Regions from separate parts of the Homo sapiens genome. Here regions 2, 3, 4, 5 and 6 are each linked to region 1. Evidence: promoter capture Hi-C in human tissues and cell types (Jung and others, 2019). All regions are on one chromosome and are shown on one strand. The core of a region is centred on a gene start or on the middle of the fragment in contact, and the rest is flanking DNA. Distances in the headings are between cores, read along the strand shown. Region 1 holds the start of HTR2A (5-hydroxytryptamine receptor 2A). Region 2 has its middle 460 kb from the start of HTR2A. Region 3 has its middle 420 kb from the start of HTR2A. Region 4 has its middle 360 kb from the start of HTR2A. Region 5 has its middle 340 kb from the start of HTR2A. Region 6 has its middle 260 kb from the start of HTR2A.

Region 1 (3,920 bases), core at 702-3,201:
GAATATTGGTTGGGAATATAAAGAAGCAAAAATCAAGTAGATTCAGAATGATGGGTAAGTTATTGGTTTATGACTGTATGGGGTAATTTATAAAAATTTCTACATTAAATGTACATGTTTTGAAGCACAAAACTCTCCAATGATCATTTTTACACAGGATGTACGCGTTTTGAAGCACAAAACTCTCCAGTGATCACAGGTCATAGACTGTCTGATTTTTATGTGAAATCCCATTTTAAGAGTAAAATATAAGTAACATAGTAGGCTCTAGTCTATAAACAAAGACTTCTATTTATAGTTTGTTTGCCCCCTGAGCCCCATCTCATCTGCTGGTGGCATGCACATGCTCTTTATTACCAGTGCGAATATAGCTGGGAAACTAATGCCACTCACCATACAGGATGGTTAACATGGACACGGGCATGACAAGGAAACCCAGCAGCATATCAGCTATGGCAAGTGACATCAGGAAATAGTTGGTGGCATTCTGCAGCTTTTTCTCTAGGGACACTGCCATGATGACGAGTATGTTTCCAGCAATAGTTAGAATAATCACTACGGCTGTCAGTAAAGCAGACCAGTTTTTTTCCTGGAGATGAAGTAAGGAGAGACACGACGGTGAGAGGCACCCTTCACAGGAAAGGTTGGTTCGATTTTCAGAGTCGACTGTCCAGTTAAATGCATCAGAAGTGTTAGCTTCTCCGGAGTTAAAGTCATTACTGTAGAGCCTGGTGTCATCATTTAATTGCATTAGGGAGTTCGTAGTTGAGCTCAAAGAAGTATTTTCTTCACAAAGAATATCCATGTCTAAGCCAGAACTTGTAGCAGATGAGGTGTAGAAGGACTAACAGGTTATAGTTTCTGCTCACCATTCACCTTGATGTACCCACACTCTGTAACACTGAGGCTGGTGTACATGCTGTTCTCCCGGGGCTGGATTTTTGTCTTCCATTATTACAATGATAGTTAAAGAACTGAACTGTGGTGGCTGTAAGTTTTCTTCATTCACAATTTTAGGAGAGTCCACTGTTTGGTTTTATTATTTTCTCACCAAACCGAGGACAAAAAAGCAGAATGAACTTTTAGCATAGAGGTTGCAGGGTTTTTTTTGAGCGCTCGGGAAGATAAATGTCCTGGACAAAGAAGAAAAGTTTTATAACTACTGGGACTCTTGTTTAACTATATCTCATTTTGTTGGTTATGCCGATGGTACTAGTTTAGCAACAGTATTATTAAAATAGCATGCAATCAGAAACAGTGGGGATGTACACATTCTACATTAAGAAAGTCAATTAAAAATACATCCAGTGTTAATCCCATAGTAATTGGATGTACTTTGGGTTACAGTTCTCAGCCATTCTTAAGCTGAATTGCCACAGCTGCTGTCAGGAATTTCAGCTCCTATAATGTTGCTTAGCTAATAAAAGGAAAACAAAAAAGTCTTAAGTAAAGATTAGCAGACAACTTTCCTCCCTGGAAATTCTCATTGAAATGATTACATGTTGGCCAAGCATGATTTCAAACCGGAAAGAAAATTACACAGCAATAAAATATAGCGGCATGAGAACTTACATTTGTCTTCAGGGTCCACACATGAGATACATTTGTTATTCTGTGACTCGCTGCATCTCTCACAGTAATTAAACTGGTGTAGAGTCCCCTCTTCTTGATCTTCCACCAGCATAATATGATAGTAATTTGGTTTCTGTTTTGCTGACTTCAAAAACTGCATGCAAGAGCTGAGCCAGCTCCCGCACTGCTAGGATCCTGTTGGCTTCCTCTGGCACGGCTCGGCTGGGTTCCTCCCTCCCTGTGCGGCTCGCCTCAGCAGGCACACATTTAGAAATCATTCACGAGCCCCTCAAAGTCGCACAAAAGAACTGCATGGGAAAGTAGGAAGAGCTGTCTGCACCAAGGGACTCCTGGTTTCCACGGGAATGGAGTAGCTCTCTGACTGTCTCGTTCATTTCATCAGACCTCCCTCTATGTGTATGTCATAAGCTGCAAGGTAGCAACAGCCAGGAGGGCGGACCAAACAGGCTTTTTCTTCTCCCTCTTTTTGCTACATATTAATATTGGGAAGTTTTCCTTTGCTTTTGAGAGAAACTGGAGAAATGGCCTTTTGTGCAGATTCCCATTAAGGTAGGTAAGTGGCACTGTGGTAATTTTTTAGGCTGAAGGGTGAAGAGAGAACATAAATAAGGCTAGAAAACAGTATGTCCTCGGAGTGCTGTGAGTGTCCGGCACTTCCATCCAAAGCCAACAGTGTTTGTGTCCAGAGTGGAATTACTGACATTGGCCACATAGGCTCAGGGTGGCTAGGCACGTCTGTGGTGATAACTCTGATAAACTATTAGCACTATTTTTATTTAATAGATACACCATTGAACTGGCTTATTTTCTTCAGCAGAAATATGCCACCCAGATATTATTCAAAACCTCACATGTGGTAGGAAATAAGTTGGTTTCGCAGTACCAATTTTTTTCCCCCACCAGTAATGACAACTTGCCTTACTTGTAAAGAAAGCCCTTTCCCAAGTAGGTTTCTAAAGGAGGCAGTTCGATCTCTCTCTTTTTGCAGGCATGAAAATATTTTCCTCAATAGTTGGGTTTTGCTACAGTTCTATCACCTTCTGTTCTTCACATTCTCCCTGGACAAATTCAACCACTCTCATGCCTTCAATATGTTTGTGGCCAAGTCTGTACCTTCATAGCTGATTATTTCTCTCAGTTCCAGACCTAAATCTCTAGCTGCCCATTGGCTCCTTCCATGGTAGCCTGGGAGACCTTGACCTCAGCATCTTCCCTCACTCCGCATCCCCCTGCCCGGCTCTCAGTGCTTGTTCCTACCCATTGGCTTGCATGATGGAATCACCACCTCTTCAGACAGCTGCTGTTATCCGCGACTCTTCCTTCATTCTCGCTGCCAGATCCCACTTCGTCTCCGGTGCTACCTCTGTATGCGTGTTTCTCACATGTCCTCTCCTGCAGCCTGCAGCTGGCACCCTGTGGTCGAGATCTAGCCACCTATTTCCTGGGTGGGTGCCTTAGTGCCCCCCTCACTGCCATGCCTGCCACCCTCCTACCCCTCCACGTTAAATATGCACGCTGGCGAGCAGGCAGCGGAGAACACAGACCTTAGAGTTCCTTGGTTTTGGATCCTAGCTCTATCACTCATAAACAGTAGAACCTCGCCTCATCTAGTTGCTCCCTTTAAAGCTCAGTCTTCTCACTTGTAAAATGGGATAATACCTTCCTCATAAGATTGTAGTGAAGCTAAACTGAGATAATGTGTGTAAGTATTTGGCCCATGTCTGGCTTATAGGAGGTTCTCAAGTAATGTCAGCCACTTTCATTCCTATTGATATTCTTACTGATATTAATGACACAATTGGCATCACTCCCATGCCTACACTCCTGCAGTCCCTTCCTTGTGGGGCACATAACACTTTTCTTCATCTACCTGTACCCTGCTTGCCCCACTTTGCAGGCCTGGACTCTGGTTACTCTCCCAGTCAGCCTGTATGCAGACTGAACTTACATGTTTCTGACCATTTTTATGTCTCTGTACTTGTACTTCCCTGTGCCCGGAGTGCTCTTACCATTCCTTTTTTGTGTGTGTCCATCTGGCAAATTCGTGCTTAGTTCCAGAGCAGCTCTGGATCCCAGGCCTACCACTCACCACATCTGTAAGCGTGATTAAGCTACCTAATCTCTGTGTTTTAGTCTCCTCATCCGCAAGTAGGGAACATTAATAATAAAAAGACCTCAGGATTGACGTGAAAGCCAAATAAATTTACATATTTGCCTGGCACATTTTAAGCACTCAATAAAGGTTAGTTGCTATTATTCTTACTAAGTTTACTGTTCCTAAGCTTTCTGTAGCCCTCCTTCCCAGTGGAGGCAAAGACTATAGCACC
Region 2 (3,920 bases), core at 653-3,152, 460 kb after region 1:
ATGCAGTATTTGTCTTTCTGTATGTGGCTTATATTTAACATTATTACCTCTGGGTTCATCCATTGTCACAAATGACAGGCTTTTCTTTTTTTAAGGCTAAATAGTATTCTATTATATATGTGTATTGTATATAACACATGTTCTTATTCCATCCTTCTGTTGATGACACTTAGGATGGCTCCATATTTTGGCTTGTTCCATATCTTGTGAATAATGCTGCAGTGAACATGGCAGTGCAAATATCTCTTTGACCTACTTACTCCATTTCATTTGGATGTATATACACAGTAGTGAGATTGTTGAATCATATGGTGCTTTTATTTTTTCATTTTTGAGAAAATTCCATAGAGTTTTCCATAATGGTTGTGCTAATTTATATTCCCACCAACAGTATGCAAGGGTTCCCTTTTCTCCGCATCCTGGCCAATACTTTTTATCATTCGTCTGTTTTATAATAGCCATTATAACAAATGTGAGGGCATATCTTTTTGTGATTTTAATTTGCATTTCTCTGATAATTAGTGATGTTGAGCATTTTTCCATATACCTGTTGGCTATTTGTATGTCTTCTTTTGAGAAATATCTATTCAGGTCCTTTGCTGATTTTTAAATTAAGTTGTTTGTTTTTTGGCTAGTAAGTTGTCTGAGTTAAATATATATATAATATATATATGTATATAGATAGATACACACATACATATATATGTATATATTACATATATACATATATTATATAGTATACACATATTATATAATATGTATATGTATGTGTGAAATATATTTAGAGAAAGTCTCACTCTGTCACCCAGGCTGCAGTATAATGGTGTGATCATAGCTCACTGTAGCCACCAACTACTGGGGTCAGGCAATCCTGCCACCTTAGCCTCCTATGTAGCTTGGACTACTATAGGCACACACCACCATGCCTAATAATTTTTTTCCTTTTTAATAGAGAAAAGATTTCATTATTTTGCCCAGGCTGGTCTCAAACTGCTGGCCTCAAGTGATCCTCTCACCTCATCCTCCCAAGGTGCTGGGATTACAGGTGTGAGCCAACAAGCTTAGCCTCCTTATACGTTTTGGATATTCACCTCTTATCAAATACATGCTTTGAAAATACTTTCTCCTATTCTGTAGGTTATCTCTTTACACTGTTGGTTGTTTCTTTTGCTGTGCAGAAGCTTTTAGTTTGACGGAATCCCATTGGCTTAATTTTGCTTTTGTTGCCTGTGTTTTGGGGGTCATATTCAAACAAATCATTATCCAGACCAATGTCATAGAGCTTTCCTCCTAGGTTTTCTTCTAATGATTTTACAGTTTCAGGTCTTACATTTAAGTCTTTAATCTATTTTGATTTGGGTCTTCTCTTTTTTTTTCGGTATGTGGTGTGAGATGAAGATCTAATTTCATTCTCCTGCATGTGATTATCCAGTTTTCTCAGCATCCTTTTATTGAAGAAACATTATGTTTCTCCATTGTGTGTTCTTGGCACCTTTGCTGAAAATCAATTGACTATAAGTGTGTGGATTTATTTAGGGCTTTCTATTCGGTTCCATTGGTCTATGTGTGTCTTTTAGGCCAGTACCATCCTGTTTTGTTTACTATAACTTTGTAACATATTTTGAAGTCAGATAGTGTGACGCCTCCAGTTTTTTGTTTTGTTTTGTTTTTGTTTTTGTTTACCCATGGATACTTTCATTGTTTGGGGTCTTTTGTGGGTCCATATGCATTTAATTTTTTTTTCTATTTCTGAGAAAAATATCATCAGATTTTGGTAGAGATTGCACTGAATTCTTAGATTGCTTTGGGTAGTACGGACACTTTAACAATATTAATTCTTTCAATACATGAACATGGGGTATCTTTTAATTTATCTGTAAATGTGCCATTGAATTTGGTTTGCTAGTATTTTGTGGAGGATTTTTGTGGCTATATTCATCAGGGATGTTGGCCTGAAATTTTTTGTATTGTTCTTGTGTTGCTTTCTTATTAATGTTGGACTCATAAAATGGTTTTGGAAGTTTTTTCTCCTCACCAATTTTTTGGAAGTGTTTGAGAGTATTGACATTAATTTTCTCTAAATATTTGGTAGAATTTACCAGTGTTGCCGTCTGGCCTTAGGTGTTGTTGTTCTTGTTGTTCAGAGGTTTTAGATTACTGAATCAACCTCCTTACTCATTATTAGTATTTTCTGATTTTCTGTTTCTTCATGACTCAATCTTAGTAGGTTATATTTCTAAGAATGTATTCATTCCTTCTAGGTTAATTCATTTGTTAACTTATAATTGTTCATAGTAGTCGCTCATGATCCTTTGTCTCTCTGTGATTTGATTTGGGTCTTCTCTCTTTTTTTAGTCAGTCTACCTAGTGATTTCTGCTATTTTGTTTCTGTCTTGCTATTTTTTGGCATAGTTCGTTCTTATTTTACTGGTTTCTTGAGGTGTAAAGACAGGTTGTTTATTTGAGATCTTTTCTTTTTTCTCAATCTAACTGTTTATTGCTATAAGCTTCCCTGTTAGAACTGTTTTTGAAGACTTGTAAGTTTTGATATGTTGTGTCTCCATTTTTTGTGTGTCTCAAAATATGATTTTATTTCCCTAACATCGTTTTCCATTTTTTTTGTGTCTCAAGATATGGTTTTATTTCCCTTTTTAGGTTTTGTTTTCCTAAGTTTTTATCTCAGACCCATTAATTGTTCAGGAGTGTGTTGTTTAATTTTCACATATTTGTGAATTTTTCATTTTTCTTCTGTTACTGATTTCTAGTTTCATACCATTGTAGTCAGCAGAGATTTCATATGATTTCAATCTTTCTGAAGCTGTTAAGACTTGTTTTATGGCCTAACGTATGACCTATCTTGGAGAATGTTCCATGTGCACTCAAGAAAAATGTGTACTCTGCTGCTTCTGGATGGGATGTTCTGTATATGTCTGTTAGGTCCATTTGCTCTATAATGTTCCAGTCAGCTGTTCCCTCTTTGATTTTTCTGTCTGGATGATCTATCCATTGTTAAGAGTGGAGTACTGAAGGACCCTACTACATTCTATTGCTTTATACTTCTCTCTTCCATGCAGTTAATACTTTATTTATTTAATTACATGACTAGTGTTTCACACATACATTTTTGCAATTGTTATATTCTCTAGATTAATTGGCCCTTTTATTATTATATAATGGCCTTCTTTGTCTCTTTTGACTATTTTGACTTAAAGATTTTTTTTGACTGATATAAGTATAGCCACTCCTGCTCTTTTTTTTTAACCATTAGCATGGAATATCTTTCTCCATATTTTAACTTTCACCATATGTGTGCCCTTAAAGCTAAAATGAGTCTCTTGTAAGGAGCATGTAGTTAGAACATTTTTATCCATTCAGTCACTGTATCTTTTGAAGAATTTAATTCTTAAAACTGTGACACAAAAGATAAATGAGGTAATTACTGATAGGAAAGGACTTACTATTGTACTTTGTTAATTGTTTTTTGACTGTTTTGTAGTTCCTTGCACTTTCTTTCTGTCCCCCCTTTGTGATTTGATGACTTTTTGTAGTGGTATTCTTTGATTCCCTTCTGCTCATCTTTTGTGTATCTACTACAGGTTTTTTTCTTTATGGTTACAACATAACAGTTGCAGTTGCCTCATGAGCAACTGGTAATGTCAAAGTTTTGAATTTTTCTAAATGTTAGCCATTTTAATAGGTACTAGTATCTCACTGTTGTTGTAATTTACATTTTCTAAATGACAAATGACATGCAGCATTTTTCATGTGTTAATTTACCATCTGTATATCTTTGGCAAGGAGTCTGTTCATATTTTTGGTCCATTTCTTAATTGGTTTGTTTGTTTTCATGATGTTTAGCATTTTTTAAAGTAACAGTTTATTTAGATATAATTCATATGCCACACAATTCACTCACTTGA
Region 3 (3,920 bases), core at 725-3,224, 420 kb after region 1:
GTTCATAGCATTAAATACGTACATCAAAAAGTCTTAAAGAGCACAAATAGACAATCTAAGATTACACCTCAAGGAACTAGAGAAACAAGAACAAACCAAACCCAAACCAAGCAGAAGAAAAGAAATAACAAAGATCAGAGCAGAACTAAGTGAAATCGAAACAAAAAAGATACAAAAGATAAATGAAACAAAAACCTGGTTATTTGAAAAGATAAATAAAATTGATAGTCTATTATGAAGATTAACCAAGAAAAGAAGAGAGAATCTCTAAAGAACCTCAATTAAAAATGAAACAGGAGATATTACAACTGATACCACAGAAATACAAAAGATCATTCGAGGCTACTATGAATACTTTTACATGCACAAACTAGAAAACATAGAGGAGATGGGTAAATTCCTGGAAATATGCAACCCTCCTAGATTAATCCAGGAAGAAATAGAAACTCCAAACAGACCAATAACAAGCAACAAGACTGAAATGGTAATAAATACATTGCCAACAACAACAAAAAAATCTAGGACTAGATGGATTCACAGCTGAATTCTATCAGACATTCAAAGAATTGATACCAATCCTATTGAAACTATTCTGAAAGATAGAGAAAGAGGGAATCCCTCCTAAATCATTCTATGAAGCTAGTATCACTTTAATACCCAAACCAGGAAAAGACATAACAAAAAAACAAAACTACAGACCAATGTATACCTGTCTGGGTCTTTTGTGGTTCTATATAAATTTTAGGATTGTTTTTCTATTTATATTTCTGTGAAGAGTGTCATTGATATTTTGATAGAAACTGCACTGAATCTATAGATTGCTTTGGGAACCACGGACATTTTAACTATATCGATTCTTGTAATTTATGAACATGGAATATCCAAAATTTTCTGAAAACTGCAAACACTGGTGAGAGAAATACAAGAAAAGCTATACAAATGGAGAGGTATTTATGGATTAGAAGAGTCATATTGTTTTTTTGAGACAGAGTCTCACTCTGTTGCCCAGGCTGGAGAGCACTGGTGCAATCTTGGCTCACTGCAACCTCTGTCTCCTGGGTTGGAGCACTTCTCCTGCCTCAGCCTCCCGAGTAACTGGGATTACAGGTGTTCTCCACCACGCCCGGCTAATTTCTGTATTTTTAGTAGAGACAGAGTTTCATCATGTTGACCAGGCTGGTCTCAAAGTCCTGACCTCAGGTGATCCACCCACCTCAGCCTCCCAGAGTGCTAGAATTACTGGCCTGAGCCACTGTGCCCTGCCTCATGTTGTTAATATATAAATTCTCCCCAAATTGATCTACAGCATCAATACAATTCCTATTAAAATTCCATCAGGTATATTTTTAATTAACAAACTGATTCTAAAATTTACAAAGAAAATGCCAAATACTAAAAATAGCCAAAACAACTTTGAAAAAGAACACTATCTGATTCAAAATTTACTATAAAGCTATAGCAATAAAAACAGTGTAGGGCTGATATAGAAGTAGACAAATATATCAATGGAACAGAATAAAGAATCCTGAAATAAACCTATATATATATATGTGTGTGTGTGTGTGTGTGTGTGTGTGTGTGTATTGATTTTTAATAAATGTCTCAAAGCAATTCAGTGGCAAAGGATAATTTTTCAAAAAGTTGTGCTGACACAAGTAGATATTCATATGCAAAAATATGATCCTCAAACAATACATAAAAATTAACTTGAGTCACAGGACTAAATATAAATTAAAGTGATATAAAATCCAGAGATACATTTAGGAGAAAAATCTTAGTAACCTTAAGCTTAGCAGTGATTTTTTAAAACATGACATTAAAAAGCATAAAGTATAGAATAAAAGATTAATAAATTGAAGTTTAATTTGTAATAAAACTTTTCTTCTTCAAAAGACAATGATAAGAAGAAGTAAAGGCAAGTCATAGACTGGGAAAAATATTTGCAAAACAGATATCTGAAAAAGGATTTGTATTTGTAATACATAAGGAATTCTTATAACTCAAAATAAACAACATACTACAAAGTGGACAAAAAATTTGAGTGTATGTGTCACCAGAAATTGATTTGTTGATATGATATGAGGTAGGGGACAAGATATTGTCATGACCTTGGGATGGGGAAGATATCTTGTCACAAGAAATGCTAATGCTGAAGGAAAAGTTTTGTAAATTACATTCAAATTGAGAACCTCTTGTCAAACGATACTGAGAGAATAAAAAGTCAAATCATGGCGTAGGATAAAATATATGCAATACATAGAAATAGCAGAAAACATGTTTCTAGAACATAAAAGGAACTCCTACGTGTTAACAGAAAATAATTTCTACAAGTTTTCTGTAAATCTGAAACTGCTCTAAAAAATACAGTATATTTTTTAAAACATGGAAGGAAAGAAGGAAGGAAGGATTAACTCATTAGAAAAAAGAGCAAAGTTGAACAGACACTTTCCTAAACATGATATCCAAGCAGTTAAACAAGCATATGAAAAGGTGCTTAATTTTTGTATAAGGTGTAAGGAAGGGGTCCAGTTTCAGTTTTCTGCATATGGCTAGCCAGTTTTACCAACACCATTTATTAAATAGGGAATCCTTTCCCCATTGCTTTTTCTTGTTGGGTTTGTCGAAGATCAGATGGTTGTAGATGTGTGGTGTTATTTCTGAGGCCTCTGTTCTGTACTCAAGATGGATTAAAGACTTAAACGTAAGACCTAAAACCATAAAAACCCTGGAAGAAAACCTAGGCAATACCATTAAGGACATAGGCATGGGCAAAGACTTCATGACTGAAACACCAAAAGCAATGGCAACGAAAGCCAAAATTGACAAATGGGATCTAATTAAACTAAAGAGCTTCTGTACAGCAAAAGAAACTATCATCACAGTGAACCGGCCACCTACAGAATGGGAGAATTTTTGCAATCTATCCATCTGACAAAGGGCTAATATCCAGAATCTACAAGGAACTTAAACAAATTTATAAGAAAAGAAAAGAAATAAACAACCCCATCAAAAAGTGGGTGAAGGATATGAACAGACACTTCTCAAAAGAAGACATTTATACAGCCTACAAACATATATAAAAAATGCTCCTCATCACTGATCATTAGAGAAATGCAAATCAAAACCACAATTAGATACCATGTCATGCCAGTTAGAATGGCGATCATTAAAAAGTCAGGAAACAACAGATGCTGGAGAGGATGTGGAGAAATAGGAATGCTTTTACACTGTTGATGGGAGTGTAAATTAGTTCAACCATTGTGGAAGACAGTGTGGCGATTCCTCAAGCATCTAGAACCAGAAATACCATTTGACCCAGCAATCCCATCACTGGGTATATACCCAAAGGATTATAAATCAATCTACTATAAAGACACATGCACACGTATGCTTATTGCAGCACTATTTACAACAGCAAAGACTGGACTGAACCCAAATGCCCATCACTAATAGACTGGGTAAAGAAAATATGACACATATATACCATGGAATACTATGCAGCCTTAAAAAACAATGAGTTCATGTCCTTTTCAGGGACATGGATGAAGCTGGAAACCATCATTCTCAGCAAACTGACACAGGAACAGAAAACCGAACACCACATGTTCTTACTCATAAGTGGGAGTTGAACAATGAGAACACATGTACATAGGGAGGGCAACATCACACACCAGGGCCTGTTGGGGGGTGGGGAGAAGGGGAGGGATAGCATTAGGAAAAATACCTTAATGCATGCAGGGCTTAAAACCTGGATGACAGTTAATGGGTACAGCAAACCACCATGACACATGTATACCTATGTAACAAACCTGCATGTTCTGCACATGTATCCCAGGATTTAAAGTATATATATATTTTAAAAAGGTGCTTAAACTTGTTAGGGATTCTGGAACCAGAACTTACTATCACAACTATTTGCT
Region 4 (3,920 bases), core at 903-3,402, 360 kb after region 1:
TTTTTAATATTCTGCAGGTGAGGAATTGTCAAAGTATTTATGTTTGTCTATTGGCTTGATATTTCAAGACCCCTTTATTCAAATCATGCACAGGGTGTCTAGCTATACTGGAGCTTCCTTGGCTAAACTAAGAGACAGGAGAGAATAAATTTCCACCCTTTCCCCCTTGTTGGTCTGTGAGGCACCTGTGTGGACTCCTGTGGTTCCAACAGTTTCAGCTGCACTGACAGAGGGTGGCCAAAGGACCATCAAGTAGGAATACTATGATTATTTCATGCTTTAAGATGATCACTTTGACAGGTGTACGGAGTAGGAATTTAAACTGGAAGAATCTGGGGCAGGAGACACCAATTGGAAGCCCACTATAAGTGGCTTACTACTGACAGGACAATAAGGGTGTATAGGGACTGGAAGGGCAGGGATAGCGGGGTGGGGAAGACAAATGAGGCTATTGCGATGACTGGATTTAGGGAGAGAAGGAAAAAGAACAGTCAATACTTTGTATTCATGAGGTGGTAATAGGCAATTCAGGACATTCAGATAATAAGTTAGTTTTTGTATAACTTCAGTTTGTGGTATTGGAAAGATATTTAGATAGAAGTATTCAATATATAGGGAAAGTGGGCCTAAAGTCAAGGAGAGAAGTGGAACTAAAGATGTAGATGCAGAGATATTGGCAGCTGATACCACAGATATGGACAGGCTGGACTCAGGAAAACAGGCAGAGGGAGAGGAAAAGGCAGCAAGGACAGAACTCAAGAGCATGCAGCATTTTGAGAGGCTCAGACAGAGAAGAACCAGCTTCTGTGACTCAGGCACAGTCAGAGAAATTGGAGGAGACCCAGTTATTGTTCATCCTACAATTTTCCCATCATTCATTCTGCTCATGTCCATTTCCACACCCCTGAAGAGGAAGTGTACTCACTTAAGCCAACGGATGCTTACCAGTCATGACACACACCATATCTGAGCAGAAGCTTTAATTGTTGTGCATGCAATGTCTCTGTTTCTTTTGTTCCTATCATCCACTGTGACAAGAGGATGGGCCAGATGGTGGCTAATCCTTCATCATGGGTTCCAAAATGAGAAGACACATGGATCCCTGCCAAGGCTATAGCCAATCTGCAGGTCCCATGCAATGTGAACAAGAAATAAATATTGGGTTTTGAAAGCCATTGATTTGGGGGTTGTTTGCAGGTGCAACAAAAGCTGACTAACACTCTAATATTAAGGGAGTTTTGGGAAAAAGAGTAAAGGAAAAGGGGGTGTCAAATACTGCAGGGACGACAATAGCATGGGAATTGAAAAGAAGCAACTGACTTTGGTAAGCCCCAAGAGTGTGAATAGCAGCACACACCTGTATGAGTCCAGGATCAGGGCTTACCTTGGGCAAGACAATACAGCCTATTTTGGACACTCCCTGTCTTTTGGTTACCTGACATTTCCCATGTATTTTCCCATCTTAGTATCTCCTGGTATCCCTCAAAAACAGAATCTTTGTTATGTAGTTAACTGTCCTTTGTATGAGGGTCTCAGATTCAAGAGACTTTGAGACTAAAAGATGTTTAGACTCTGTGAAAAGAGTGAGTGGATAGGGGTGCCTCTAATCACACAGTTGCCTACCCAGAAAAAATTCTGTCCTTGGTAGAATTCCTTATTATTACCTTGGCTTCAAGTGGTCTTTGTCATATCTGTTTAAAATTGTACAAGATCAAAAGGGTTATCCAAGAGCTATAGATTCTGCCTAGCTACATATAATAAAAGAGCACTCAGCAGGGCATGCAACTTGAAAGTCAGTCCCTGGTGACCATGTGCAGAGGACAGTGGCTGTGAGCTTCATATTTAGGTTTCATATCCAGGCTCAGAAAATTCCTAGATGTGTTAACTTGGACAGTTGTTTAACTCTCTCTACCTTAGTTTCCTTTTTTATAATGTAGAAAAAAGAATAATATCTTTTGCAGAGTTTGATAGTGTTTAAATCAGAAAATGCTGAAGACGTACTTAGAGTGATTAGTACATAGCCTCAATAAATGTTAGTCATTAGTATATGTGTAATGCTATTCATATTACTACCCTATTTCTTAAATTTACTTTTATATGTAATAGAAGTCACAGCTTAACCCTTAACTGGGATTTAGATATGACTGTACATCAACTAGCAGGGCTGCTGCCAGGAGTCCATTTGAATGAGGGGTTTTTTGTTTTTTTTTGAGACAGAGTCTCACTCTGTCTGCCAGGCTGGAGTGCAGTGGCATGATCTGAATGAGGCTTTTTAGTGAAAGGAGGGTTAGAGAGCTTTCTCCTCTGCTGACAAAAGAGACAGCTTGGAGTGGGTCCCCTTCCTGGGTCTCCATCTCACAGTTGATAGGGTCCCCTTCTTGGCCCAGCCCAGCCAAATCTAGCTGATTCAATTCTAAGAACTGAGAACTGAAATCTATGGAAAGAGGGGCTGTATTTCTCATGAGGCACTATTTTTACAAGGATTCTTCTGGATAGGAGGGTAAAACAGCAGTGTTCACTCAAGAACCTGAGAATTGGGGAGGCTTTCTCATTCCTTCCATATGGAGCAGCAGCTCCAAACTAGAGATGATTCTGATTGTTTGCTTCACACTGACACCTCGAGGCACTTGGACAGCTCCTAAAGACAGCATCTTTGCCAAGAACGCCAGATTCCATGGTGACACTGGGGCTGTAGCCATGAGACATGCATGCACCAGGTGGGTTCTTGGGCAATGAACTTCAGTGATGAGATTAAAGCAGAAGAGTAGGAAAAGGTCACTTGAGAATTCCTACATGACTTCAGAGATTCCCAGAGAGAATTTTCTGAGATACGGGAAGCGTGTTAGGAGCTGTGGCTAAGAATGAGCAAATCATGGATAAGTATTATGAATTGGCCACATTTTAATTCCTAGTGTGGTGTAGCCTGAGACCAGAGAGGACACAGGCTTGGAGTTATGTAGTTGAAAAGGGGGCTGCTCTTACAAGACAGTGTATACCCTTCTGGTAAATTGATCGGATTCCTCATATCCTCAAATTTCCTCCACCTCCCCCAGCATGTGTGTGAAATTTCACATTACTTGCAGTTTTACATCCCTTCGTTTCTGGGATTCAAAATCCATTTTTTTCTAGAAAAAAATTATAACTTTTATTAGAAGTAGTGCTGAGTTTATGAAGATAATACAAGACTCTCTTTTTCAAGACAGCAAGTGTGAAGAGCATAAGGATATAAATTTATGAAATAAGTTGGGGAGGGGCTAATAGTGGAAATTATGGAAAGGTGGGAAAGTCACAAAATAAAGGTTGAAAGCATAAAGGTTGTGGCATGGAGACAATTTTTGTCAACTTCACAGCTCTGATTAGGCTCTACGCTAACACTCAATTTAACAAAGTAGAACTATGCATTCTCTTACCAATTCACTACAGAGGTGGTCTTTTATTCAAGTGCTGAGCATGTCCTAAAGATTGTGTCTGTGTGTGTTACATAATACAATACTAGCTGCTGTTCCAGCTAAACCTTAAAATTTCAGTGGTTCAATGCAACAGAGTAGAGGGTGGGGGGCAACAGAGTAGAGGGTGGGGGTTGTGTGCTGGACTTGGCCATGCTTAGCTTTTGACTTTCAAGGTTGCCCTGGGTGTGGATACAAAGATTCACCACCTCATCACCCTTCAAAAAGATACTTGCTGCCCCAGCTGTAGGGCATGCCTTCAGATGTCATCTCCTTTCAGGATTGCCTCTACTATAGAGAACTGCCATACCTGTGGTCACTTTCTAGAGTGGCCCACAACTAGAGACTAGTAAGCTCAGCTTCGATGGGCTGTTTTAGCTCTTGAGTGCCCATGGGGTATCCAAGCTTCTCATCAGGTCTGCTTCACAGCCCGACTTGTTCCTCTGCCCAATCCTGCTTTTCCTCTCCCTCCCA
Region 5 (3,920 bases), core at 485-2,984, 340 kb after region 1:
TAATTAATTCATTCATGAGTGCAGTGTCCCCATGATCCAAACATCTCCCTTTGGGTGCCACCTCCCAACACAACTGCATTAGAAATCATGTTTCCAACACATAAACTTTGTGGGATATATTTAAACCATAGAACTTGCTATCTTCTCCTGGAAGAAGCCTGTGTTCAGCTTTGGCCATGATCTCTGGTTGTTTAACCCCTTTTAGCAGCCAGATTCCCTGCAATCTTTCATGTATACTTACCTTTCCTGATGTTGATCCTGGTATTATCTCCTGCCATGATATTCAAGCATGCAATCCAGGCATGTTATTAGATTTAATGCACTAATCTGAGTAAATTTACTGAAGGAGAAGTATCTTGCTTCTCTCCTCTCAGGAAAAATGATAAATGAACCTCTCAAAACTATAGATAACCTTATCAGACTAATTAGTTCCATCCATGCATTCATTCATTCATTCATTCATTCACTTACTCATTCTCTCAAATGCTCCTTCATTCTTTCAACAAAAAAATTTTTTAGAGCTTGACATAATTTCTACCTTCAAGGAGTTTACATTTAATGAGGGCAACCAGCAGCTAACTAGATGATTATAATAGTGTAAACACTGACCCTTGAACACAGTAGTATGGTGACAAACTGCCCTGGTTTGCCCAGGACTCCTGAGTTTTCTGGGATATGGGACTTTCATTTTTTTCAAAAATGGTATAGTTCCTGGCAAACTGGGACACTTAATCACCTTAGCTGTGGGAGTATAGAAGAGGCAACCCATGACCCTGCTTGAAAAGGCAAAAGAACATTTCCCAGAAGAGGTGGTTCTAATGCTGGAATTTCAGACCAGGCAGGTGGGAGGTTCAATTCCTTAACAGCCTAGCCCAGTGGTGTCCACCTCATATTCTCATATTCTCCAGGGATCTCAGGAAGAAGGAGGCTCATGATGCTGGACTGGACATTTCTTCCTCCTCTTAAACACACACACACACACACACACACACACACACAGAGAGAGAGAGAGAGAGAGAGAGAGAAAACAAGAACATAGGCACAAGCAAGCAGGCAAGCAGCTTTGGCCTTTCTGAATGAAATCCAGCTTTTTTGAAAATTATTTTTAAATTCACAGTGAACCATCTCATACATTTTACTTCTTTCTGTAATCAAAGCTTGAGCCATATTTCTGGGCATCTAAAGTAGGATGCATTTGGAATTTTAAATCTGCTGTATTTAACTCTGCAAATATCAAAGAATGAAGAATCTTTATGAGAGGAAAAGGGCAGCTAAGCACTGTAGCAGCCTTCTCATTTGCTGGGTGACACTGAGTCACTGACGATGGTTCCTAGGGTATGGCAGAGTCACTACAGAGGCTCTCATGAGTGATCCAGGCAGGAGCACAGGCTGGAGCCACTGCTGAGGGCAGATGTTCTCTGTTCCAGAGGCAGAACACATCTCTGGAGGCTTGCTATGTAAGGGTGGCACAGAGCTGCCAGAAAACATAATAATTGCTGTGATTATGATTATAAGTGCCGTTTAATTGCTGTTGCATCATGCCAAATATCTTGGGAAGAAAAAAGTAGGGCCTTATGAATAAATGATCACTTAAAATATTTAAATAGATGATTATAATATACGACTTTAGAATACTTGACTTTACCCTGAAGCTGAATGTTTCCTGCAAAGTATGGCAAATTCATGGTCAGCAGTAAACAGTTTAGATGTCTAGTAACTTGAAATACATACAGTGCACCCTTGCTTAAGAAAACTTGTGTACATCTGAGTAATGGATAAATCAGACAGTAATTATGTAACATGGGGACTTAGGATAATTATTTCAGGAATGTATTGGGAAATATGTTGTATTGAAAAATGATCTGCTTTTAATTGTCCATTTCCAAAACAAAAAACAATCTTGAAGTTTACATAAAACTAAGCTTGGTTGAGAATGAAAGTTGTTTCCTCAATTCCCAAATCTCCCTTCTATGTAGTAAAATACAAGGCTAATATAACATAGTAGAAGAGTTTTACTATAAACCATGGTTTATCATAAGACATAACCCACCCCACATAAGTAGAAAGCCCTTTGCTGAGAGGAAAAGCAGAGGAATTTAGTGACGATGTCACTAGAATGGGAATGTTGCCGCCAGAGTCCCTGAAAGCAGACCTAGCACCTCGTATCTCCTGGGCCTCGAGCAATCAAATCCCAACAAAAAACCCAGCTAGGTTGAGAGGGAATGAAAGAACATTCTGGCTGTTGCTCTGTTTCTGGGATCAAAATGGTGCAAAAGCAATGAAGCTGTGAGTAGAGGGAGTTTTCTTGATAGACGGACCTGTAATAATAGTCTACAGTCTTCCATAGACTGCATACCAGGAATGTGGATCCATGTAGGGGAATAGGAAGGGACCCAAGGTCAGAAGACAAAGGCCGCAGGGCAGGGTTTGGCAAACTGTGGTCTGCAGGCCAACTCCTGTTACAGCCTACCTTTTTACAGCCCTGAGATATAATTTTAAAAAAATTTTAAAGGACTATAGAAAAGAAGAAGATGAAGGTGACAGAAGAGAGGGAAGAAAATGAGAGGAAAAGGAGGAAGGAACAGGAGGAGGAGAACAATAGTAAACAACAAGAAAAGTATGTGACAGAGACTGCATGTGATCTACGAAGTCTAAGGTATTTACTTTCTATCCCTGTATAGAAAAAGTTTGCTAAGCCCTGTTATAGAGCGCAGGGACCTCATATCCACGGCAAATTACAGTCACTGTAGACTTCAGCATCAGGAGCCAGGACAAGGCCAAAAGTCCAAGTGGGAGTAGGAACATCCAGGTGGATACCAGCACAGAGTCCAGAGCAAACCAGGCACACTACTAAAGAGACCAGGAAAGCAGGAAGGAAACCTATGCCACAGAAGCTTCTCCTCATAAATCCATGAGGATAAATAAGGTTCATCCTGAATCCAGACATGTCTCAGAAAAGGGGAGAAGGAAGGAAAACTCTGATGGGAAAAGAGGAATGATTGGGAGTTTGAACTTTGAACTGAGTATCACATGTGGCTGAGTTAACCTGAAAAACAAAGATAGTGTAAGCTTAAGGTTCTTCTTCTTTTTTTTTGTATTTTAAGAGATGGGCCCTCACTCTGTTGCCCAGGACTGTCTTGAACCTATGACTTCAGGGCTGGTCTCGAGCCCCTCACCTCAGTCTCCCAAAGTGCTAGTATCACAGGCCTGAGCCACTGTGCCCAGCCCTAGCATATTTATCTTTTTTTTTTTTTTTTTTTTGGACACAGGGTTTCACTCTGTTGCCCAAGCCAGAATGCAGTGGTGTGATCATAGCTCACTGCAGCCTTGAACTCCTGGACTCAAATGATTCTCCTGCCTGAGCCTCCCAAGTAGCTAGGACTACAGGCATGTGCCACCATACCTGGCTAATTTTCTAATTTTTTGTAGAAACAGGGTCTTCCTGTGTTGCCCAGGCTGGTCCTGAACTCCTGGGCTCAAGCAATCCTCCTGCCTCAGCCTCCCAAACTTGGGATTTCAGGCATGAGCCACTGCACTTGGCCAGGCTTCTTTTTCTGTTGTTGTTGTTTTTTTAAATTATTATACTTTAAGTTCTGGGATATGTGTGCAGAACATGCATGTTTGTTACATAGGTATACATGTGCCATGGTGGCTTGCTGCACCCATCAACCCGTCATCTACATTAAGTATTTCTCCTAATGCTATCCCTCCCCTAGCCCTCCATCCCCCCAAGCAGGACCTGGTGTGTGATGTTCCCCTCCCTGTGTCCATGTGTTCTCATTGTTCAACTCCCACTTATGAGTGAGAACATGTGGTGTTTGGTTTTCTGTTCCTGTGTTAGTTTGCTGAGAATGATGGTTTCAAGCTTCATCCATGTCCTTGCAAAGGACATGAACTCATCTTTTTTATGGCTTCATAGT
Region 6 (3,920 bases), core at 367-2,866, 260 kb after region 1:
ATCCTGAGTGCTGTGAGTTCTAGTGAATTGCAGAATCTGGGGAGGTGGTCTTGGGGATGCTCTGACATAGTTGGTCATTGTTTTCCTTTAGAATGCTTTTGGCATTTTCCACCGCCTTCTATCTTCCATGTGTTGAGAAGTCAGAAGTCAATCTTACCTCTGACCTTTGTATATAATATTCTCTCTCTCTCTCCTTCTCTCAAACCTTTTACAATCTTCACTTTGTTGTCAGTGTTCTGAAGTGCCGGAATGTCATGATGATGTGCCTTGAGTTCCTTGGTGAGTGTTTATATTAATCTACTCTGCTGGTCTCTTAATTGCTCCTTGTAATCTAGGAGCCTTTGTCATTTATAAATGGAAAATTTTCACAAATTACTTGTTGATGATTTCCTTCCTTCAATTTTCTCTATTCTCTATTTGGATTCCTTTGTTTGGATATTGAAACTCTAGATCTAGTCTTCTAATATTCTTGCTTTTTCCCCCCTGCTATTTTCCATGTCTTAGTCTAATTTCATATGCATTTCTTGGGCTTTATTTTGCAAATCTTCTATGGCTTTTAAAAATTATTCTGTAATATTTTTAATTTATAAAAGCTCTTTTTTTGTTCTCAGAATGCTATTTTAATGATATTCTTTTTTTCTATGAGGATAGTAGTGACAGTTATTTTGAAATTATTTTGCCCCAGAGAAGTCTGTTCCTTCCAGGTGCACTATGGATACATGATTCTTTTGGTCCTTTTTATGTTAGAAACTTTATTCAGATGTCTGCCAATCCTTGGCTATATATTCAAATTTAAGATTTGGGCAAAAAGAAGATCTGAAATCTCAGAACTAGTGTGCTTTACTTTATAACTCTCTAACTGTGGTTTCCCTGTAGAGTGTCTGGCCAGGTAATTTCCTTGTGATGTCTACTGGTGAGAATTTCTTTCATTTTTTTCGGCTACTCAAGAGTCCTTGGAGGAACTGAGTGGCAAAAGGAAGTGTGTGTTCCCTCATTCTGGATATAAATATGTACTTAATCTTCATCACAGTTCCATCTTCAACTCTGGTTACCACCCCCAGTACAAAAACCACCTGTTTTATGCTTTCCAAGTATACAAGGTAACTCCAGTATTGAGAAGGAGAAAAATTTGGGGATCTGGTCATTCCTCAATTCCTTTTTTTTTTTTTAAGCTCATCAGTTCTACTTGCAGAGGTAATTGTCAGCTTCTGGAACTTTTAATGTTTCTGTATATTAAAAGAAACATTAATAAATGTTATAAATTGGATTATTTCTTAGTTTTCCCCGTTATTGGCCACTAGTGAGTCACTTAGCTTTTCCTAGCATTGGCTATTAAAAGAGAGCTTTCTTAATCATCTGCTTTCCAGCTACCAAAATTTGTTGCTATATCTTCTCTTACTCTCCTTGTCCTTTTAAGTTTATGACTTAAAAAAAAAAAATCCTTACTGTTGTCCTAGAGAGATTTTTGGTGAGCACGAAAGAAAATGTATATGGTTAAAGTGCCATCTTAATCCAGAATTTCTGATACTCTTAAAGCATGCCTAACTATGTATTTTACCTTTGAATCTCCAGTGCCTAGAACAATATCTGGTGAATATTAGGCCCTCAATATATATTTATTGAATATATATGTGTATTATGTCTGTATGTGTAAATATATATTGATGTGTATGTGTACATACACATATATTTATATATAAGTATATACTAAATATACATAGCTATAATTTTATCTGGTTTCCAGTGAAAGAAATACAACTAATAAAAAACTAAAAAAGAGAAACTAAATAAATAAATCTAAAAGGGAATTTATTGACCTATGTGACTGGGAAACAAAGAGGTAGATCTTGCTCCAAGCAAAAATGGATGTAGGGACTCTAATGAAATAATCAGATCGCTTGATTTCTCTGTGTTTTGGCGTTATTCCCCTCTGTGTTAGTCTGTTCTCGGACTGCTATGAAGAAATACTCCAGACTGGGTAATTTATAATGGAAAGAGGTTTAATTGACTCACAGTTCTGCATTGCTGGGGAGGCCTCAGGAAACTTACAATCATGGTGGAAGGCAAAGGAGAAGCAGGCACCTTCTTTACAGGGTGGCAGGACAGAGTGACTGCAAGCAGGGGAAACTCCAGATGCTTATAAAACTATCAGATATCGTGAGACTCATGCATTATCATGAGAACTGCATGGGGGAAACTGCCCCCATGATCCAATTACCTCCACCTGCCTCTGCCCTTGACATGTAGGGAATTATGGGGATTACGGGGATTACCATTCAAGATGAAATTTTGGGTGGGGATACAGCTAAGCTGTATCACCCCCTTTATAGACATAGAGCAAGCAGGGTAATTTATATCCTTTTCTCATGGTTCTAAAAGCAAGCTTCCTTTTCTTCCAGCACTGAATTGAAAAATCTCAGATATAAACTTTTGTTGACCGATTTGAGAAACGTGTCTACTCCTGAACCAATCAGGGTGGCTGGGAAAATGAAATACATAGGCTTTACATACTGTGGTCCATGGGCCAAATCTGGCCTGTCATCTTTTTAATTTTTTTTAAATACCACAGGATAAGAATAAGTTTTTCACATTTTTTAATGGTTACATTAGTTTTTTTACATACCTCTATAATATCTTCCATTTTGTCTTTTTTGGTCATGAAAGCCTAAAATATTTACCATGCAATTTGCTATGATTGGCTGAGTCTTGGTATGATGGATCATGTACACACTTCTGGTTGGATAGATGAGATACAATGATTGCAGGCTCAGTAGAAACAAATGTTTATAGTGGAGGAGTTAGTTTTCCAAATAAAGTATACATGCTGAACAGGCAAAATGCCACAAATAGTAATTATTCCTGAGGATTAAAAGCTTTTCCTATTAATGGTGCAAATCCAAATACATGTTCATGTGGGTGTTATATAGTTAAAACAGTTTCTCTCCATTCTTCCAACAACTTGAGAGCTATCATAGCTGCAGGAATTTTGTGAAAAACTTAATTTATGTCTAATTCTAAGACTAAAGCAATGTATGCTAGTCTAAGATGAGGCAGTCTTTAGGTTGGGTAGAATAATATTTGCATCAGTTTTCAAGCTACATAATGAAAGAGATAACTAGCCATTTGATATGGATCCATTTATTCATTATTCATTTAACAAACATTTCTTGATAAAATGTTAGTGTCTAGTTACCACCTAGTTACCTTCTTCCCTACACTAGTAACTATATTTATCAATTTTTGTTATATCTCCACTGTTTCTTTTATAAAATATAAGTAAACACACACACATATACACACATGTGTACACATACGCACACACATACATATATATAAACTCGTGTGTGTGTGTGTGTATGTGTATATATATATATATATATATATATATATATATATAATAATTACATCTGGGGTTTTCATTTGAAAACCTCAGGAACTAAGCTTATATACTTCCAGTCATTTTAGCCTCCCATAAAGTTTAGTTGTACCTTTAAATAAATATGTTGACTCAGTCTGACCTTTGAGAGTCAGGATCATAAGAAGATTCAGGTCCAATTACAGAACTCGGTAACAGTTAAAATTTCACTTTCATTCTCCAGAGATATTCCTTCATAAATAATGTATACATATTCATTTACCCTCTGACCCACTTAAAATCTATCTCACAGCAAAATACTAAATGTCCTTTGCACAAGACTATTCATAGAAACCTTATTTATAATTGCAATGGAAAAGTCCATTAATAAGGAACTGGTTGAAGAAAATTATGGTTTATTCACTCAATGAAGGCTAAAAAAGCAAATAAAAAGGGGATGAATAGGATATCAATATGCTAATATAGCATTGATATGGTTTGGCTGTGTACCTACACCAATCTCATCTTCCGTTGGAGCTCTCATAATTCCCACGTGTCATGGGAG

Evidence for each region. Contacts are between HindIII fragments. The study calls those that stand out against the background at their distance.
Region 2: a contact is called between a fragment that was not itself captured here and the fragment with the promoter of HTR2A in region 1, in 3 of the 25 tissues and cell types used here (dorsolateral prefrontal cortex, lymphoblastoid cells and mesenchymal stem cells).
Region 3: a fragment that was not itself captured here is called in contact with the fragment with the promoter of HTR2A in region 1 in 4 of the 25 tissues and cell types used here (H1 embryonic stem cells, lymphoblastoid cells, mesenchymal stem cells and 1 more).
Region 4: a contact is called between a fragment that was not itself captured here and the fragment with the promoter of HTR2A in region 1, in 2 of the 25 tissues and cell types used here (dorsolateral prefrontal cortex and mesenchymal stem cells).
Region 5: a fragment that was not itself captured here is called in contact with the fragment with the promoter of HTR2A in region 1 in 1 of the 25 tissues and cell types used here (dorsolateral prefrontal cortex).
Region 6: a fragment that was not itself captured here is called in contact with the fragment with the promoter of HTR2A in region 1 in 1 of the 25 tissues and cell types used here (lymphoblastoid cells).

The regions. Positions count from the first base shown.
Region 1 is chr13:46,895,102-46,899,021 of GRCh38, forward strand. HTR2A (5-hydroxytryptamine receptor 2A) reads right to left here and starts at 1,952. Exons shown (of 4, transcript NM_000621.5): 1 at 1,573-1,952; 2 at 394-1,133. The coding sequence starts at 805. The HindIII fragment of the contact is 6,478 bases long and covers 1-3,920 here.
Region 2 is chr13:47,354,290-47,358,209 of GRCh38, forward strand. No RefSeq gene overlaps it. Among named protein-coding and RNA genes, the nearest start is that of HTR2A, 460 kb to the left of the region's middle. The HindIII fragment of the contact is 4,983 bases long and covers 1-3,920 here.
Region 3 is chr13:47,313,089-47,317,008 of GRCh38, forward strand. No RefSeq gene overlaps it. Among named protein-coding and RNA genes, the nearest start is that of HTR2A, 420 kb to the left of the region's middle. The HindIII fragment of the contact is 8,995 bases long and covers 1-3,920 here.
Region 4 is chr13:47,255,961-47,259,880 of GRCh38, forward strand. No RefSeq gene overlaps it. Among named protein-coding and RNA genes, the nearest start is that of HTR2A, 360 kb to the left of the region's middle. The HindIII fragment of the contact is 5,283 bases long and covers 1-3,920 here.
Region 5 is chr13:47,236,429-47,240,348 of GRCh38, forward strand. No RefSeq gene overlaps it. Among named protein-coding and RNA genes, the nearest start is that of HTR2A, 340 kb to the left of the region's middle. The HindIII fragment of the contact is 3,466 bases long and covers 2-3,467 here.
Region 6 is chr13:47,152,057-47,155,976 of GRCh38, forward strand. No RefSeq gene overlaps it. Among named protein-coding and RNA genes, the nearest start is that of HTR2A, 260 kb to the left of the region's middle. The HindIII fragment of the contact is 3,082 bases long and covers 76-3,157 here.